Linked DNA regions of Homo sapiens: region 1 is linked to region 2. The links are contacts of gene promoters, found by promoter capture Hi-C in blood cells and fetal thymus (Javierre and others, 2016). All regions are on one chromosome and are shown on one strand. Each heading gives the region's core, a stretch centred on a gene start or on the middle of the fragment in contact. The rest is flanking DNA. Distances are from core to core; before and after follow the strand shown. Region 1 has its middle 7.6 kb from the start of YWHAG. Region 2 holds the start of GSAP (gamma-secretase activating protein).

Evidence for each region. Contacts are between HindIII fragments. The CHiCAGO score rates a contact against its expected background, and 5 or more counts as called.
Region 1: a fragment that was not itself captured here is called in contact with the fragment with the promoter of GSAP in region 2 in 1 of 17 cell types (M0 macrophages); the score reaches 6.0 in M0 macrophages.

What each region holds. Positions count from the first base shown.
Region 1 is chr7:76,365,084-76,368,111 of GRCh38, reverse strand. No RefSeq gene overlaps it. Among named protein-coding and RNA genes, the nearest start is that of YWHAG, 7.6 kb to the right of the region's middle. RefSeq lists an enhancer at 2,943-3,028. The HindIII fragment of the contact is 7,431 bases long and covers 1-3,028 here.
Region 2 is chr7:77,414,681-77,417,767 of GRCh38, reverse strand. It overlaps GSAP (gamma-secretase activating protein), which reads left to right and starts at 1,419. Exons shown (of 31, transcript NM_017439.4): 1 at 1,419-1,555. The coding sequence starts at 1,447. It overlaps LOC101927243 (a long non-coding RNA gene), which reads right to left and starts at 2,570. Exons shown (of 5, transcript NR_110073.1): 1 at 2,420-2,570. RefSeq lists silencers at 1,124-1,473, 1,694-1,903, 1,964-2,253. The HindIII fragment of the contact is 1,753 bases long and covers 218-1,970 here.

The DNA of each region.
Region 1 (3,028 bases), core at 279-2,778, 1.0 Mb after region 2:
GTTCACACAGCTGGGTTTCGGGAGAAGACTGCAGCCCAGGCTCTTCTCCCTCTTGAACATACTTGTCTCTTTGAGACAGTGGCCCATTTTTTTCATGGTGACACACATTCCCTTGGTGGGATAATTTTATTTTATTGTTTAAAGGAGTCTTGCTCTGTCACCCAGGCTGGAGTACAGTGGCGTGATTTCAGCTCACTGCAACCTTTGCCTCCCAGGTTCCAGCAATTCTCCAACCTCAGCCTCCCCAAGTAGCTGGGATTACAGACGTGTACCACCACGTCTGGCTAATTTTTGTATTTTTAGTAGAGACAGGGTTTCATCATGTTGGCCAGAATGGTCTTGAATGCCTGACTTCAAGTTATCCACCCGCCTTGGCCTCCCAAAGTGCTGGGATTATAGGCATGAGGCACTGCACCTGGTCTCCTTTTAAAAAATTGTTTTTGTTTTGTTTTGTTTTGTTTTTTAAAAATTTTTTGAGATAGCGTCTCACTGTGTTGCCCAGGCTGGAGTGCAGTGGCGCCATCATAGCTCACTGCAGCCTCCAACTCCTGGGGTCATGTGATCCTCCCACCTCAGCCTCCCAAAGTGCTGGGGTTATGGGGTTGCAGGTGTGAGCCACAGTGCCTTCCCTGATTCCCTTCTTAAAGCAGAGAGTCTCCTTCATTGAACACAACTTCGCTGAGCACCTGCTCCATGCTAGGCTTGGAGATCAGAGATGGCTCAGACTGAGTCTATGTCTTTCAGGAATATGACCCCAGGGAAGACAGACTCATATACATCTGAGTGCTATATGGTGGTCTGGGCTCTTCTCTAGAGAACATGGCAGGAGAGCCCATGGGGACTGAGGAGAGAGTGGTTAGTTCAACTCAGTGTCTGAGTCTGAAGGATGAGGAGGTCTGGGTCTAATGGGGGTGGGCATAGAAGGAGCTTTCAGCACAAGGAACAGCTTTTGAAAAAGCCCAGACTGGGTCAGGCGCAGTGGTTCACACCTGTAATCCCAGAACTTTAGGAGGCCGAGGCGGGCAGATCACCTGAGGTCGGGAGTTCGAGACCAGCCTGACCAACATGGAGAAACCCCATCTCTAATAAAAATACAAAATTACCTGGGCGTGGTGGCACATGCCTGCAATCTCTTCTACTCAGGAGACTGAGGCAAGAGAATCGCTTGAACCTGGGAGGTGGAGGTTACGGTGAGCTGAGATTGTGCCATTGCACTCCAGCCTGGGCAACAAGAGCAAAACTCTGTCTCAAAAAAAAAGAAAGAAAAGAAAAAAAAAAAAGAAAAGAAAAAGCCCAGACTGCCCAGGTGTGGTGACTCATATGTATAATCCCAGCACTTTGGGAGGTAGAGGCAGGAGGATTGCTTGAGCCCAGGAATTTGGGACCAGCTTGGACAACTAAACATAGACCCTATCTCCACAAAAAAAAAAAAAAAAAATAGAAAATTTTTTTCTACTGGGCGTGGTGGTGTGAGCCTGTATTCCCAGCTGCTCTGAAGGCTAAGGCGGGAGGATCATCTGAACCTAGGAGGTCGAGGCTGCTAGTCCAGCCTGGGCGATAGAGCATGACCCTGTCTCAGAAGAAAAAAAAAAGATATTTTGGATTTTTCACTGGGGAGAATGGAAAGACACTGAGACAGGGCCATTAGCTGAAAAGCTGTTGCTATAAACTGGAAGATCTTAAGACGCATCCACCTGGTTCCTCTATTTTATAGATGCACAATCTGAGAACCAGAGAGGCAAAGTGATTTGCCCAAGGTCACTCAGGAAGATTAATGGCAAAGCCAGTGCTTCAACCTGTGGGTCCTGCCTCCTGGGCTCATGCCTCCTCCACTGGCCTGAGATCCTCAGAAGGAGAGGCAGGTTGCAGAGATTTCCTGTCATTCTTTGCCTCTGCTGCAGGACAGCCTGCTAAGGCAGTGACAGGGAAGTGTTCCCAGAGGACAGGGCGGGGAGCATTGCTGCTTGGCTTCAGAAGATGCTGCTGCTGCCTCTGCACTAATCAGGGAGCTTTCCAGCCACAGGAGGAAGCCAGAAGCCAGGGGATGGGGCTGCGGTGATTTATGACTGCACAGAAACAGCAGGACAATCATGTCCCTGGCTGTCCTGCATGTCTGCCAACCGAGCCGGACAGCATGCATTTAAAAGGTCATGTCCTCCAGTGCTGGAGAAGGGGCTGGAGGGTGCCCTTCGGTCAGGTTGGTCACTCCTTTCCTGAGCAGATGCCAAGGAGGGTAGATCCTGGACAGGAAACAATGCCTTTGCTGCTAAGAGTCTAGGAGGTCTGCCCGGGTTTGAATCCAGGCTCTGTTAGCTGAGACACGGAGAGGCTGTGTGATTTTTGGCTGATCACACAGCCTCTCTGTGTCTCTGCTTCCTTGTCTTAAAAAACAGGGGTGAAGCTGGGCGCGGTGGATCACACCTGTAATCCCAGCACTTTGGGAGGCCGAGGCAGGTGGATCACCTGAGGTCAGGAGTTCGAGATCAGCCCGGCCAACATGGTGAAACCCTGTCTCTACTAAAAATACAAAAATTAGCCGGGCGTGGTGGCACATGTCTGTAATCCCAGCTACTCAGGAGGCTGAGGCAGGAGATCACTTGAACTTGGGAGGCGGAGGTTGTAGTGAGCTGAGATCGCGCCACTGCACTCCAGCCTGGGCAACTGAGCAAGATTCTGTCTCAAAAAAAAAACCAAAAAACAAAAAAAAAACTGGCCGTGCACTGTGGCTCACGCCTGTAATCCCAGCTCTAACTCTTTGGGAGGCCGAGGCAGGCGGATCACCTGAGATCAGGAGTTCGAGACCAGCCTGACCAACATGGAGAAACCCCATCTCTACTAAAAATACAAAAATTAGCCGGGCATGGTGGCGCATGCCCATAATCCCAGCTACTCAGGAGGCTGAGGCAGGAGAATCGCTTGAACCTGGGAGGCAGAGATTGTGGTAAGCTGAGATCGTGCTGTTGCACTCTAGCCTGGGCAACAAGAGCGAAACTCCATCTCAAAAAAAAAAAGAAAAAAAAAGGAAGAG
Region 2 (3,087 bases), core at 170-2,669:
GGCCACATCTTTCTATCATTATCTTATTGTTTCTCACCTTCTTTACATTGGCTTTTTCACTTAATTTGAAGAGAATTTTTTATATCATCACTGCTTGACTATAAAATCAGTCCTGCCTGGCAAAAATAGAAGTTAACTGCAAAAATAAAAACAATGGAAATGTACTGACTTTAAAAAATTGGCCAACAGTGTTTCTGTATGACAAAGGCAACAAGCTTATTTGATATGAAATAGTTGCATTAGCTCCTTGGGGGCTCCAGTGGCCTTCCTTTTATTCACTGATAATATTAGCAGCTTCATTAGGCATTTATCTTAAATTTGCATGCACTTCCCGGGTGGGAGGACTTTCCTCTGTATATGGTGGTGAGTAATGGAGTTCTACCTGAAATCATCCATTACCTCAGTTGGAGAAACATGTCTCTAGGAGGGAAAAAAATTCAAGACTTTCTTTTACATTTGGTTGGAGTAGTTTTCAAACTTAGTAAGCCTAAGAATCACCCGAGGCTCTGGGTAAAATGCACGTTTCTGGTCTTGTCCAGGTGTAGAGATCAGGAGTCTGCATTGTAAAATAGTGCCCCAGATGACGTCAATACAAGTAGTTTTCAGACCTTAATTTCGGAAGCATGTGAAAAAGCATTCTTTATTACTGTATTCACTCATTCTTCAGTAATTGTCGAGCACCTTCCAGAGTGCTCTGTTAGACCCTGGTGGGAGGCAGAGGGTTTGCGTGGAGACTTAAGATTCAGTTTTCATGTCTCAAGGCATCAAATGAGATGTACTAGAGTTAAAAGGCAAAAAGGACGCTGTTTGTATCAAGCGCATTAACCCCTTTTAGCGTTTCTCTTACAATGGGATCACCTTCGTCATACGCTCCCAGTTGCTACTCATTACCTTAATAACACTAATAAAGCACCACCACCTCGAAGCTGGGGCGAATAGGCCCAAGAGACGGCCTACTTCTGTGGTGACCCTGAACTGCTCCAGAGGACCCAGCTCTCTCAAGCCAAGTGGTTTCCACACTTTGCTGCACAGTGGAGGCACTTGTAGAATAAAGAAAATAGGCCGACCCTCCAGGTTTGGAAGCCACTGGGCTAGCGGCCTCGCCAAGGCCCTGAAGCGCCCACGTCTTTGCGCCCTCTATCCTCAGCCCCGAAGGTGCGCGCGGAGGCCTCCCGCCCCGGCGGGCCTGGTCCTGGCGCCTGGTCCACCCCGCCCCACCGCTACCCGCCGTGCCCGGCTCCGGCTCCGGCTCAGGTGCGGGCCGCCGGCCGGGAGGAGCTGGTGCCGGAGCTTCTCAGGCCAGGGCGCTGCAGAACCGAAAGCAGCAGGGGGCGGGGGAGAGGAAAGAGGGGGCGGGAGCGGGGACGCGAGGGCGAGGCGGCCACGCGGGGCCGGGAATGCCCGCGGTGCGGGGCCCCAGAGCCGCCCGGTGGTCGTGTCCGGGCGATGGCTCTTCGCCTGGTCGCCGACTTCGACCTCGGGAAGGACGTGCTCCCGTGGTTGCGGGCGCAGCGGGCAGTGTCGGAGGCCAGCGGGGCCGGAAGCGGCGGCGCAGGTGCGGGAGGCGCGCTGCGGAGAGGGGTGGGGGCGGGGAGTGGGAGTCCCTCATACCCCCCGGACTCCGACCCGGTGGGGAGCAACCCGGGGCGTCGCCGCCCTGAGAAGGCTGGTGCGAGGGCGTCGCTCCCCTCCTCAGAGGGCTGTTTTGGCTTTGCCACCCACACCCAGCCACGGCGGAAGGTCTGGGGGCAGAGCCCGGGCCAGGTCGCCGTGGGGCCTGAGGCGCCTGGCTCGCTGCCGGCCCGCGGAAATTCGCCCTTGGCAGAGGGGCCGGGCCGCTGGCGGTTCCCTCAGCATCACCTCACGGCGAGGGCAGAGGGTCGTGCTCAGCTCAGCGGCCGCATCCCACCTCCCGGGGGGTTCATCGGCAGCGCAGGGGCTTTGCCAAGACAGGAGTGCTCCTGGAAGCTTCACGTTTTGAGAAAGAATCCGTGACCACCAAGCAAACCACCCTATACCTAACGGTGGAACAGTTTGTCCCCACATTTGCGAGACGTGTTTATGTGTCTGTTGAACCGTGTCCGTGGCTCAGGGGACATGGGCCTCGGCGGTGAGGCGCAAGAGGGCAGGGGCCGCCTCCAGGCTGCGCGCGGCGGGGCGAGAGCCCCCAGCCGCCCCCGAGCTCCGCACCTGTGCAGGCTGGGGCTGCGCGCGAGATGCTCGGCTCCCGGCCCTGCCACTCCGGGCTTTTTGATGATTTGGTAAGGGAGTGAAAGTGACTTTTGAGCCTTCCCAGCACTGATCTGTTTTAAAGAAGGGGAACTTTGTGATTTCTTACAAAGTTTTAAAAGTCTTCTATAAATATTGGAGCTTCAGAGCTTAAATGCAGCTTCAAAGCAATGATGCCTGTAGGTCTCACCTTGTGTGTAGGGCGCTGTCCACTTCAGTGAATTTGGAAGTGGGTATTAAATGACCCACATCTACAACTCCTTTCCCTTAAACGCTGGTGAAAGTTTTCTTGATGTGAGTTATATATCAAGTTGCTATCTTGTATCTTCACACTCTCCTATGACTATAGCGAAATTATTTGTAGGTTTCCTTGGCTTGGAATATTATTAGCTCCAAATAAGGAGTTATATGTTTGTGTAGCGTATGCATTGAGTTTGCATTAGTGTCATGCTTAGTAAGGCTTTACTTTTTTTCGAGGTGGAGAGGGTGGTCAAGGAAGAATTTTATACAAAAATTAGCTGGGCGTGGTGACACGCTCCTGTAATCCCAGCTACTCGGGAGGCTGAGGCAGGAGAATCGCTTGAACCTGGGAGGCAGAGGTTGCAGTGAGCCGAGATCTCGCCACTGCACTCCAGCCTGGGCAACAGAGTAAGTCTCCGTCTCAAAAAAAAAAAAAAAAAAAAAAAAAAAAAAAGTCGCCCACATGTCTGAAAAGTTTTTGAAGGCTTAACTTTTTGAAATACAACAGGCAGCTCTGTCTTCTACTACCAAGTACTCCTTTTTCTGGACTCCCACTTTATTTTGCTAAATGGCAGGTGTCTGCAAATGAGAAGTTAGATGAGTGTGAAATGCCACAGT